Regions from separate parts of the Homo sapiens genome. Here regions 2, 3 and 4 are each linked to region 1. The links are contacts of gene promoters, found by promoter capture Hi-C in blood cells and fetal thymus (Javierre and others, 2016). All regions are on one chromosome and are shown on one strand. Each heading gives the region's core, a stretch centred on a gene start or on the middle of the fragment in contact. The rest is flanking DNA. Distances are from core to core; before and after follow the strand shown. Region 1 holds the start of ACRBP (acrosin binding protein). Region 2 overlaps NCAPD2 (non-SMC condensin I complex subunit D2). Region 3 has its middle 13 kb from the start of MLF2. Region 4 has its middle 6.7 kb from the start of COPS7A.

Region 1 (3,158 bases), core at 341-2,840:
CAAGAGATCCACCCTCCTTGGCCTCCCAAAGTGCTGGAATTCCAGGAATGAGCCACAGTGCCTGGTCTCTATTTTATTAATTTATTTTATTTTATTTTATTTTTGAGACAGGGTCTCACTTTGTCACCCAGGCTGGAGCACAGTGGTGAGATCTCAGCTCACTGCAGCCTTGACCTCTGAAGACTCAGGTGATCCTCCTACCTCAGCCTCCCCAAGTAGTAAGTGGGACAACAGGCGCACACCACCACACCTGACAATTTTTGTATTTTTTGTAGAGACAGGGTTTCGCCATGTTGCCCAGGCTGGTCTGGAACTCCTGGGCTCAAGGAATCCACCCGCCTTGACTTCCCAAATGCTGGGATTACAGGCGTGAGCCACCAAGTCTGGCCCAAGACAATTTCTTGTTTTATTTTTCTTTTTTACTTTTGCTTTTGGGTGGGGACAGGGTCTCACTTTGTCACCCAGGCTGGAGAGCAGTGGCCCGATTGCACCTCACTGCAGCCTTGGCCTCATGGGCTCAAGCGATCCTCCCATCTCAGCCCCCCAAGAAACTGGGACTACAGGCACGTGCCACCACGCTTGGCTAATTTTTTGTACTTTTTGTAGAGACGAGGTTTCGCCCTGTTGCCCAGGCTGGAATTTCTCATTTTAAACACAAAACAGATACAAAAGCAAAAGTTCTCCTCCCATACCTCAGTGGACTGTCTTACTCGATTCTCCCTTGGAAACCACTTTCGTAGACCACTGAGCCACCCTCTTGTTTTCCCCTTGGACCCATTTTGCTCATGGAGGCGCCCTGTCTAGTTCCTACCCAGATAGGCCTTGACTTGGTTTTGCACATTCTATCTCTGCCTGCGCTTAGCTCTAGACCTCACGACCTGTTTGTTGGGCGAGTTGCTTCCCTAAGCCCCGATTTCTCATCTGTAAAACGAATGATAGTGTATCTACCTTATGGGATTCCTATGGCAATTACGTAAGGTAGTGCATGTAAAGATGCTAAGTGGCTGGCTACGGTGGCTCACACCTGTAATCCCAGCACTTTGGGAGGCCGAGGTGGGCAGATCATTTGAAGTCAGGAGTTCAAGACCAGCCTGGCCAACATGGTGAAACCCAGTCTCTACTAAAAATACAAAAATTAGGCCGGGCATGGTGGCTCACGCCTGTAATCCCAGCACTTTGGGAGGCCGAGGTGGGCGGATCACAAGGTCAAGAGATCGAGACCATCTGGCCAGCATGGTGAAATACCATCTCTACTAAAAATACAAAAATTAGCTGGGCGTGGTGGCGTGCACCTATAGTCCCAGCTACTCGGGAGGCTGAGGCAGGAGAATCACTTGAACCTGGGACGCCGAGGTTGTAGTGAGCCGAGATCGCACCACTGCACTCCAGCCTGGGCGACAGAGTAGGACTCCGTCTCAAAAAAAAAAGAAAAAGACGCTAAGTGAAGGTAGCTGTTTGCCATTCCTACCATCTGGATGGGCTCTGGCCACTTTAGGGCCCTGAGAGCCCGGCTGTCGAGGCCCCGCCCCGGCCCGCTCTTTGTGACGCGTGGGCGGTGCCCGCGTGCGCCCCGCCCCGCGCCTGCGGCTCTCTCTGCGGCTTGGCCCGTTAGAGGCGGCTTGTGTCCACGGGACGCGGGCGGATCTTCTCCGGCCATGAGGAAGCCAGCCGCTGGCTTCCTTCCCTCACTCCTGAAGGGTGAGAGGTTTACACCTGCTCCAACAGACTCTCCCCGGGCTAGTCCTCTCCCTCCCGAGAGCTCTGCTTTTACGGTTTCTGGATCGCTTCCTCATGGTGGTCGCGCTGGGTCGGCTCCCTAGGTCCTGGGATACTCCCATCTCCCCCCGCCCGCGGCCGGACCTTTGCCTCTGTCTCTAGACTCCCCCCGCCCTGGTCAGCAGGGATAACCCTCACCCCGTTCCTAATTTGCCAGTCTGGGTCTGTCTGTCCTGGTCTCGGAGCGGGTTTTGGGGTTCGGTCCTTCCATCATCCGTTCGCCCGCTCCGCAGTGCTGCTCCTGCCTCTGGCACCTGCCGCAGCCCAGGATTCGACTCAGGCCTCCACTCCAGGCAGCCCTCTCTCTCCTACCGAATACGAACGCTTCTTCGCACTGCTGACTCCAACCTGGAAGGCAGAGACTACCTGCCGTCTCCGTGCAACCCACGGCTGCCGGAATCCCACACTCGTCCAGCTGGACCAATATGAAAACCACGGCTTAGTGCCCGATGGTGAGGGCCAGACTAGGGGGGAAACCGAGGCACCCAGAGTGTTCACCCAAACCTCAGGGCAAAAACCCCTGTGCTCATGTGAGGCGGGGAAGGGCATGGCTGGCACCACACCATGAGCTCGTACTCTCCACCCTCCCCATGGCGTGGAGTCCATTGCCCACAGCCCCACCCCAAGCTCCCCACGGGTTCATCTTCTCCACCCCTGCCCTTTCTCAGGTGCTGTCTGCTCCAACCTCCCTTATGCCTCCTGGTTTGAGTCTTTCTGCCAGTTCACTCACTACCGTTGCTCCAACCACGTCTACTATGCCAAGGTGAGGCCCAGGACAAAGGTTGGATTTGGTGCCCCAGGGCCAAGGGAGAGGCGGCAGCAGTGGGGAGTTGAGGAAGGGTTCCAGGAGAGTCATCCTTAGCTCCTCCTTCCCTGCCATTTTGCCAGTCATTTACCCAGATTATATATGAATACAGTCTCACCTTGGATATTCAGATTGAACAATTCTGTTACTGCAAGAAAAGTAGAGAAGAGACTGGGCATGGTGGCTCATGCCTGTAATCTCAGCACTTTGGGAGCCCGAGATGGGCAGATCACCTGAAGTCAGGAGTTCGAGACCAGCCTGGCCAACATGGTGAAACCCCGTTTCTACTAAAAATACAAAAAAAAAAAAAAAAAATAGCCGGGCTTGGTGATGGGCGCCTGTAATCCCAGCTACTCGGGAGGCTGAGGCAGGAGAATTGCTTGAACCCGGGAGGCAAAGGTTGCAGTAAGCCGAGATCATGCCACTGCACCCTATCCTGAGTGGCAGAGCAAGACTGTGTCTCAAAAAAAAACAACAACAGGGACGAGTGCGGTGGCTCACGCCTGTAATCCCAGCACTTTGGGAGGCCGAGGCAGGCAGATCATGAGGTCAGGAGATCGAGACCATCCTGGCTAAC
Region 2 (3,158 bases), core at 471-2,970, 130 kb after region 1:
AATACCAGCACTTTGGGAGGCTGACGCAGAAGAATTGCCTGAGCCCAGGAGTTGGAGACCAGCCTGAGCAACAAAGGAAGGCCCCATCTCTATTGTTAATAAAAATTTAAAAAATTAAAAAATCCAAAAGAACCCCAAGGCTGTCCTTATAGAAAGGGACTCTGGCATACCTGTAGTTGTGTTTTCATACATCATCTTGCTGATGATGCCAATGGCCTCTGTAATCTTCCGGGAGAAGCTGTAGGCATCCTGCAGATACTGTACCAGCATCTCCTGCTTCACTAGTTCATCATTTCCCCTGGATTCCTCAGGATCCGACATATTGGGTTTATTTTTACAGACAGTCTGTCCTGTGACCATGTTTCCTGTAGACTCCCGGGGATTCTTTTCTTGTGTGGAAGCTGCTGGGCCTAAGGAGTTAGAGAAGTACAGGATGGTTTCGTTCAAGGGGATACAGGGGAATCCAACAGCTGTCAACATTCCTGGATATTTACTTATTTATTTTCCTTCTTCTTTTCTTTTGAGATGGGGTCTCACTCTGTTGCCTAGGCTGTGCAGTGGCAATGATCACCGCTCACTGCAGCCTCAACTTCCCCGGGCTAAGGTGATTCTCTCACTTCAGCTCCTGAGCAGTTGGGACTACAGGTGCGTGCCACCGCACCTGGCTAATTTTTTTTTGGTATCCCTTGTAGAGATGGGGGTTTCGTCATGTTGCTCAGGCTGATTTTCAACTCCTGGGCTCAAGCAATCCTCCTGCCTTGGCCTCCCAAAGTGTTAGGATTACAGGCATAAGCCACGACATCTGGCCCTGGATATCTCTTTTCACAATGTGAAGATATGAAATTAAAACTTACTCTAAAATATCTAAATTTCTCAAAAACCATACCTAAAGACCGCTATGGTCTGGACAGTCACCCTGTGACTATCAATCTTAGGCCCGTGGGCTGCTTCCATTCCAGAGCAAAAGTAATGCCAATTCATCTCTGGGCTCTTCAGCACCAGGTTCTGTTAACCAGGCCAATGATGGCATAAAGTTAATGCTCAGTAAATACCAGTTGACATGTGTTATTTATTGACTGAAGAAGGAAAATGATTACCTTTGAAGATAAGTCCTAAGATATTCAAGAGCCTGGTCTCCTCTGACTCCTCTGGGTCTATATGACTGAAGGGTTCGGACTCCTGGAAGTGGCCTGTGGCTTCTCGAGTGAGAATGATGGCCTTTCTGAAAGAACACCAGCCTGTCAGTACCCAGAAGAATGTCACTGCAGCCGTTTGTAAGGGAGCTTACCTCATGATTCTATCAAGTCCCTGGACCTACTGCCCAGAGAAAAGGAGCACTTAACATGCTTAAAAAGTTGTTACAGCACCTACTAAGGGGTAGGGCTCAAAACACTTTGCCTATTTTTTTCCCCTGACTGCTCATCTGCAAACACTTTTCCTATTTCTGAACCTACAAGGCATTACTACAGTCTTCAAAAAAACTCCAATAAGGCTTTTTAAAGTTTTAAAATCATAAACCTACTCCAAACACCTGTTTAAAAACTTTCCTAAGTTTAGAAACAATAAACTTTCAATAATTAGTTAATTCAGGCACATCCAGACAATAAGATTCTATGTAGTCATAAAAAATAATGGGGACACGTGAGCCCAGGAATTTGAGATCAGTCTGGGCAACACAGGGAGACCCAACTATACAAAAAGTAAAAAAAGTTAGCCGGGTGTGATGGTGTGTGCCTGTGGGTGTGATGGTGTATGCCTGTGGGTGTGATGGTGTGTGCCTGTGGGTGTGATGGTGTGTGCCTGTGGGTGTAATGGTGTGTGCCTGTGGTCTCAGCTACTCGAGGGAGCTGAGGTGGGAGGATCACTTGAGCCTGGGAGATCAAAGCTGCAGTGAGTTGTGATCATACCACTGTACTCCAGCATGGGCAAAAGAGTGAGACACTCTCTCTCTCAAAAAAAGAGGAGAGTGGGAAACTATTTATGTATAAATATATATGTGTATATATATATATATATTTTTTTTTTTAGAGACAGAGTCTTGTTCTGTCACCCAGGCTGAAGTGTAGTGGCATGATCTTGGCTCACTATAACCTCTGCTTCCTAGGTTTGAGTGATTCTCATGCCTCAGCTCCCCAAATAGCTAGGATTACAGGTACGTGCCACCATACCTGGCCAATTTTTGTAATTTTAGCAGAGATGGGTTTCGCCATTTCGCCACGTTGGCCAGGCTGGCCTCAAACTCCTGGCCTCAAGAGATCCACCAGCTTTGGGCTCCCAAGGTGCTGGGATTACAGGTGTGAGCCACTGCACCTGGCCATCTATAAATTTTTTTTTTTTTTTGAGATGGACTCTTCCTCTGTCACCCAGGGTAGAGTGTAGCGGAGCAATCTCAGCTCACTGCAACCTCTGCTTCCTGGGTTCAAGCAATTCTCCTGCCTCAGCCTCCCAAGTAGCTGGGATTACAGGCATGAGCCATTGCACCCAGCCATAAATATTTTTAAAAACCACTGAGACACATAGTTAAGTGAAAAAAACAAGATGGTAGATCAGTGGGCAGAGAATTCTATCAGTCATATAAAAGGGGGAAAAAAAGAATACATGTTTGACTGCTTGTCTACATGTTATCTTCTTGCCACGTTGCCCAGGCTGGCAAAGGCCAGGCCTGGTGGTGTGTACCTGTAATCCCAGCTACAAATTATAAATAAATTAACCAGGCTACTCAGGAGGCTAATGTGGGAGATCGCTTGAGCCCAGCAGGGTTGAGGCTACAGTGAGAGGCTGCAGTGAGCTGTGATTGCGCTACTGTACTCCAGCCTGGGCAACAGTGAGATTCTGTCTCAAAAACAAACAATCCTTTTCTAATTGACAGGAGAAAATACTAGAATGCTTGGTGGAACATGCACTTATAAAACTATAGTCTCTATTTTTGCTTTAGCAAAATAAAAAGAGAGACACTAAAGTAACATAAGGGAGTCATAGGGCAAACAAGCCACTCTCTAGCCTTCTAAAAACAGCCCAAGCCGGGCACGGTGGCTCAAGCCTGTAATCCCAGCACTTTGGGAGGCCGAGGCAGGCGGATCACGAGGTCAGGAGATTGAGACCATCCTGGCTAACACGGTGAAACCCCGTCTCTACTAAAAATATAAAAAAAAAAATTA
Region 3 (3,158 bases), core at 422-2,921, 93 kb before region 1:
AGGAGCGTGACCACTGAAGCACAGCATCACAGGGAGAGGGTTAGGCCTCCGGATAACCGCGGGCCAGCCTGACTAATGTCAGGCCCTCCACAAGAGGTGGAGGAGCAGAGTCTTCTCTAAACTCCCCCGGGGAAAAGGAGACTCACTTTCCCGGTCTGCTAAGTAGCGGGTGTTGTTCCTTGACACTTTTCGCTACTGCTAGACCACCTCCCAGGTTCAAGTAATTCTCCTGCCTCAGCCTCCTGAGTAACTGCAATTACAGTCGCATGCCACCACGCCTGGCTAATTTTTTATATTTTCGGTAGAGATGGGGTTTCACCATGTTGGCCAGGCTGGTCTCAAACTCCTGACTTCAAGTGATCTGCCCACCTGGGCCTCCCAAAGTGCTGGGATTACAGGCGTGAGCCACAGTGGCCGGCCTGCTTTGTGCATTTTAAAGCGCTTTAGTTAAATGCATAGACATTTAGAATTATTGTATCTACTTGGAAAACCAAATATCTTATTATGTAATGTCTTTTTTGTTTTGTTTTGTTTTTTTTGAGACAGAGTCTCGCTCTGTCACCCAGGCTGGAGTGCAGTGGCATGATCTCGGCTCACTGCAACCTCTGCCTCCCAGGTTCAAGTGATCCTCCTGCCTCAGCCTTCTAAGTAGCTGGGATTACACGCCTGGCTAATTTTTTTGTATTTTTAGTATTGATGGGGGTTACACCATGTTGGCCAGGCTGGTCTGGAACTCCTGACTTCGTGATCTGCCCACCTCGGCCTCCTAAAGTGCTGGGATTACAAGCTTAAGCCACCAAGCCCAGCCAATGTCCCTCTTTATCTCTGGTAATTTTCTTTGCTCTGAAGTTTAGTTAACTGTTACTACAGCCATTTTCAACTTTCTTTTGGTTAGTGTTCATGGTACGTGTTTCTCCATCTTTTTACTTTTAACCGACCTATGTCATACTTAAAAGTATTTGTTTTCTTTTTTAAGACACTGTATTTCTGGGTCTTTTAAAAAAATTATTTTGGCCGGGCGCGGTGGTTACGCCTGTAATCCCAGCATTTTGTGAGGCCGGGGTAGGCAGATCACGAGGTCAGGAGATCGAGACCATCCTGGTTAACACAGTGAAACCCCATCTCCACTAAAAATACAAAAAAAATTAGGAAGGCGTGGTGATGGGCGCCTGTAGTCCCAGCTACTCGGGAGGCTGAGGCAGGAGAATGGCGCGAACCGGGGAGGCGGAGGTTGCAGTGAGCCGAGATCGCACTACTGCACTCCAGCCTGGCAACAGAGTGAGACTCTGTCTCAAAAAAAAGAAAAAAATTATTTTGATATTTTTTTAAAATAGAGATGGGGTCTCTATTCACTGTGTTGCACAGGCTAGTGTCAAAATCATGGGCTCAAGTGATCCTCACGCCTCAGCCTCCCAAAGTGCTGGAGTTAAGAAGTGAGTCTTTTTTTTTTTTCTTTTTTTTTTTTTTTTGAGACAGGGTCTCACTCTGTTACCCAGGCTGCAGTGCAGTGGCACAGTTACAGCTCACTGCAGCCTTAACTTCTCAGGCTCAAGCAATCCTCCCAACTCAGCCTCCCAAGTAGCTGGAACTACAGATGTATACCACCAGCCTATCCGTCTTTTAATTGTAGTTAGGCCATTTAAATTTAATATAATTGCCCAGGTGTGGTGACTCACACCTGTAATCCCAGCACTTTGGGAGGCCAAGGCGGGAGGATTGCCTGAGGTCAGGAGTTCGAGACTGTCCTGGCCAACATGGTGAAACCCTGTCTCTACTAAAAATACAAAAATCAGCTGGGCTTGGTGCATATGCCTGTAATCCCAGCTACTCGGGAGGCTGAGGCAGGAGAATAGCTTGAACCTGGGAGGCAGAGGTTGTAGCAAGCTGAGATCGCGCCACTGCGCTCCAGCCTGGGCGACAAGAGTGAGACTCCATCTCAAAAAAATAAATAAATAAAAATAAAAAATTAATATAATTAGTATGTTTGCATTTATCTCTTTTTTTTTCTTTGTTTCTTTCTTTCTTTTTTTTTTTTTGAGACAGAGTCTCACTCTGTTGCCCAGGCTTCAGTGCAGTGGCACGGTCTCGGCCCACTGCAAGCTCCGCCTCCCGGGTTCATGCCATTCTCCTGCCTCAGCCTCCCAAGTGACTGGGACTACAGGTGCCCGCCACCACGCCCGGCTAATTTTTTTGTATTTTTAGTAGAGATGGGGTTTCACCATGTTAGCCAGGACGGTCTCGATCTCGTGATCCACCTGCCTCGGCTTCCCAAAGTGCTGAGATTACAGGTGTGAGCCACCGCGCCCGGCAATATTTCTATTATTTATTATTTATTTTGTTTGTTCTGTTTGTAATTTCTCTGTCTCCATTTTCCAGCCTTGTATTGGTTTACTTGAATGTTATTTAGTATTCCATTTTAATTTATGTACAGATTTTTTTCACCCAGTAAATCTCTGTATCATTTTCTTTTCTTTTTCTTCATTTTTTGAGTCGGAGTCTCGCTCTGTCGCCCAGGCTGGAGTGCAGTGGTGTGATCTCGGCTCTCTGGAAGCTTCGCCTCCTGAGTTCACGCCATTCTCCTGCCTCAGCCTCCCGAGTAGCTGGAACTACAGGAGCCCGCCACCACGCCCGGCTATTTTTTTGTATTTTTAGTAGAGACGCGTTTTCACCGTGTTAGCCAGGATGGTCTTGATCTCCTGACCTCGTGATCCGCCCGCCTCGACCTCCCAAAGTGCTGGGATTACAGGCTTGAACCACCGCGCCCGGCTTTTTGTTTTGTTTTTTGTTTTTGAAACGGAGTCTTGCTCTGTCGCCCAGGCTGGAGTGCAGAGGCGCGATCTCGGCTCTCTGCAAACTTAGGCTCACTGCAACCTCCGCCTCCCGGGCTCAAGTGATTCTCCTGCCTCAGCCTGCCGATTAGCTGGGACTACAGGCGCCCACCACCATGCCCAGCGAATTTTTTTTTTTTTTTTTTTTTTGAGACAGAGTCTCGCTCCTGTCGCCCAGGCTGGAGTGCAGTGGCGCGATCTTGGCTCACTGCAAGCTCCGCCTGCCGCGTTCACGCCATTCTCCTGCCTCAGCCTCCCAAGTAGCTGGGACTACAGGCGCCCGCCACCACGCCCGGCTAATTTTTTTTTTTTTTTTTTTTTTTGTATTTT
Region 4 (3,158 bases), core at 277-2,776, 70 kb before region 1:
GAGTAGCTGAGACTACAGTTGCCCGCCACCATGCCTGGCTAATTTTTTTTGTATTTTTAGTAGAGACGTGGTTTTACCATATTGGCCAGGCTGGTCTCGAACTCCTGACCCTGTGATCCACCCACCTCGGCCTCCCAAAGTGCTGGGATTACAGGCGTGAGCCACCAAGCCTGGCTGGAAATTTTTTTTTTTTTTTTTTTTTGAGACGGAGTCTCACTCTGTTGCCCGGGCTGGAGTGCAGTGGCACGATCTCGGCTCACTGCAACCTCCGCCTCCCAGGTTGAAGCAATCCTCCTGCCTCAGCCCCCCCAGTAGCTGGGATTACAGGCACCCACCATCACCCCCAGCTAATTTTTGTATTTTTAGTAGAGACGGGGTTTTGCTGTGTTGGTCAGGCTAGTCTCAAACTCCTGACCTCAGGTGATCCACCCACCTCGGCCTCCCAAAGTGCTGGGATTATAGGTGTGAGCCACCATGCCTGGCCAGAAATTTTTTTTTTTTTTTTTGAGATGGAGTTTCACCCTTATTGGCCAGGCTGGAGTAAAAGGGCACGATCTCGGCTCACTGCAACCTCTGCCTCCCAGGTTCAAGTGAGTCTCCTGCCTCAGCCTCCCTAGCTGGGATTACAGGCATGTACCACCATGCCTGGCTAATTTTGTATTTTTAGTAGAGACAGGGTTTCAACATGTTGGTCAGGCTGGTCTGGAACTCCTGACAGGTGATCCACCTGCCTCTGCCTTCCAAAGTGCTGGGATTAGAGGCGTGAACCACTGAGGCCTGCCAAAACATTTTTTATTTTAAAAAAATGACATCATCAAGGCAAGTAGCACCAAACTTTCAAAGTACAGATCATATTAATTTTATACACACTATTGCAGAAAATAGGAAGAGAGAGCACCCCTTAACTTATTCTATGGGGCCAGAATCACCTTGATAACAAAATCAGCAAAGGGCAATAATGTAAAGGGAAATTTTAGTCCCATCTAATCAGGAGGCTGAGGTGGGAGGACCACTCAAGCTAGCAATTCAAGATCAGCCTGGGCAACACAGCAAGACCCTGTCTCAAAAAAAAAAAAAAAAAAAAAAAAAAAGGAAAGAAAAAGAATGAAAGGAAAATTGCCCAGCACAGTGGCTCACACTTGTAATCCCAGCACTTTGGGAGGCCAAGGCAGGGGGATCACCCATCAGGAGTTCGAGACCAGCCTGACCAGCATGTTGAAACTCCATCTCTACTAAAAATATAAAATTAGCCAGGCATGGTGGTGCATGATCACTCCTGATCACGAGGTCAAGAGTTTGAGACCAGCCTAACCAATATTATGAAACCCCCCTATCTCCACTAAAAACGTAAAAATGGCTGGGCGTGGTGGCTCACACCTATAATCCCAACACTTTGGGAGGCCAAGACGGGTGGATCACCTGAGGTCAGGGGTTCCAGACCAGGCTGGCCAACATGGCAAAACCCTGTCTCTACTAAAAATACAAAAACTTAGCCTGGCATGGTGGCACACACCTGTAATCCAGCTACTTGGGAGACTGAGGAAGAATTCCTTGAACCCAGAAAGACAAGGCTGCAGTGAACTGAGATCACACCATTGCAATCCAGCCTAGGCAACAAGAGCAAAACTCCGTCTCAAAGAAAAAAAAAAAAATTAGCCAGGTGTGGTGGTGTGTCCAGAATTGGTGGGTTCTTGGTCTCACTGACTTCAAGAGTAAAGTAGCAGACCCTCGTGGTGAGTGTTATAGCTCTTAAGGTGGTGTCTCTGGAGTCTGTCCCTTCTGATGTTCAGATGCCTTTGGAGTTTTTTCCTTCTGGTGGGTTCATGGTCTCGCTGGCTCAGGAACGAAGCTGCAGATCTTCCCGGAGAGTATTCCAGCTCATAAAAGCACCATGGACTCAAAAAGTGAGCAATAGCAAGATTTATCGCAAAAAGTAAAAAAACAAAGATTCCCCACCGTGTAAGGAGACTAGAGCAGGTTACTAATGCTGGCTGGGGCAGCCTGCTTTTATTCTCTTATCTGGCCCCACCCACATCCTGCTGATTGGTAGAGCCGAGTGGCCTGTTTTGTCAGGGCGCTGATTGGTGCGTTTACAATCCCTGAGCTAGATACAAAGGTTCTCCACGTCCCCATCAGATTAGTTAGATACAGAGTTTCCACACACAGGTTCTCCAAGGCCCCACCAGAGCAGCTAGATACAGAGTGTTGATTGGTGCATTCACAAACCTTGAGTTAAACACAGGGTGCTGATTGGTGTGTTTACAAACCTTGAGCTAGATAGAGTGCCGATTGGTGTATTTACAATCCCTGAGCTAGACATAAAAGTTCTTCACGTCCTCACCAGAGCAGCTAGATACAGAGTGTCGATTGGTGCATTCACAAACCTTGAGCTAAACACAGGGTGCTGATTGGTGTATTTACAATCCCTGAGCTAGATATAAAGACTCTCCACGTCCCCACCAGACTCAGGAGCCCAGCTGGCTTCACCTAGTGGATCCCGCACCGAGACTGCAGGTGGAGCTGCCTGCCAGTCCCGCGCTGTGCGCTCGCATTCCTCAGCCCTTGGGTGGTCGATGGGACTGGGCGCCGTGGACAGGGGGCGGCGCTCGTCGGGGAGGCTCGGGCTGCACAGGAGCCCATGGAGGGGGTGGGAGGCTCAGGCATGGCGGGCTGCAGGTCCCGAGCCCTGCCCCGCGGGAAGGCAGCTAAGGCCCGGCGAGAAATCGAGCGCAGCGCCGGTGGGCTAGCACTGCTGGGGGACTCAGTACACCCTCCGCAGCCACTGGCCCGGGTGCTAAGTCCCCCATTGCCCGGGGCTGGCAGGGCTGGCCGGCTCCTCCGAGTGCAGGGCGCACCAAGCCCACACCCACCCGGAACTCCAGCTGGCCCGCAAGCGCCCCACGCAGCCCCGGTTCCCGCTCATGCCTCTCCCTCCACACCTCCCTGCAAGCTGAGGGAGTGGGCTCCAGCCTTGGCCAGCCCAGAAAGGGGCTCCCACAGTGCAGTGGGGGGGCTGAAGGGCTCCTCAAATGCCACCAAAGTGGGAGCCCAGGCAGGGGAGGTGCCGAGATCAAGCGAAGGCTCTGAGGACTGCCAGCACGCTGTCCCCTCTCAGTGGCGGGTGCCTGTAATCCTAGCTACTGGAGAGGCTGAGGCAG

What was found. Contacts are between HindIII fragments. The CHiCAGO score rates a contact against its expected background, and 5 or more counts as called.
Region 2: a contact is called between a fragment that was not itself captured here and the fragment with the promoter of ACRBP in region 1, in 3 of 17 cell types (non-activated CD4 T cells, total CD4 T cells and activated CD4 T cells). The highest score is 8.0, in non-activated CD4 T cells.
Region 3: a fragment that was not itself captured here is called in contact with the fragment with the promoter of ACRBP in region 1 in 10 of 17 cell types (activated CD4 T cells, naive CD4 T cells, naive B cells and 7 more); the score reaches 11.5 in activated CD4 T cells.
Region 4: a contact is called between a fragment that was not itself captured here and the fragment with the promoter of ACRBP in region 1, in 3 of 17 cell types (non-activated CD4 T cells, activated CD4 T cells and naive CD8 T cells). The highest score is 6.4, in non-activated CD4 T cells.

Annotation. Positions count from the first base shown.
Region 1 is chr12:6,645,864-6,649,021 of GRCh38, reverse strand. It overlaps ACRBP (acrosin binding protein), which reads left to right and starts at 1,590. Exons shown (of 10, transcript NM_032489.3): 1 at 1,590-1,698; 2 at 2,010-2,228; 3 at 2,445-2,539. The coding sequence starts at 1,656. RefSeq lists enhancers at 1,663-1,732, 1,656-2,169. The HindIII fragment of the contact is 16,958 bases long and covers 1-3,158 here.
Region 2 is chr12:6,519,050-6,522,207 of GRCh38, reverse strand. It overlaps NCAPD2 (non-SMC condensin I complex subunit D2), which reads right to left. Exons shown (of 32, transcript NM_014865.4): 14 at 1,098-1,222; 15 at 171-410. Among named protein-coding and RNA genes, the nearest start is that of GAPDH-DT, 14 kb to the left of the region's middle. The HindIII fragment of the contact is 7,418 bases long and covers 1-3,158 here.
Region 3 is chr12:6,738,934-6,742,091 of GRCh38, reverse strand. No RefSeq gene overlaps it. Among named protein-coding and RNA genes, the nearest start is that of MLF2, 13 kb to the left of the region's middle. The HindIII fragment of the contact is 1,764 bases long and covers 790-2,553 here.
Region 4 is chr12:6,715,809-6,718,966 of GRCh38, reverse strand. No RefSeq gene overlaps it. Among named protein-coding and RNA genes, the nearest start is that of COPS7A, 6.7 kb to the left of the region's middle. The HindIII fragment of the contact is 9,962 bases long and covers 1-3,158 here.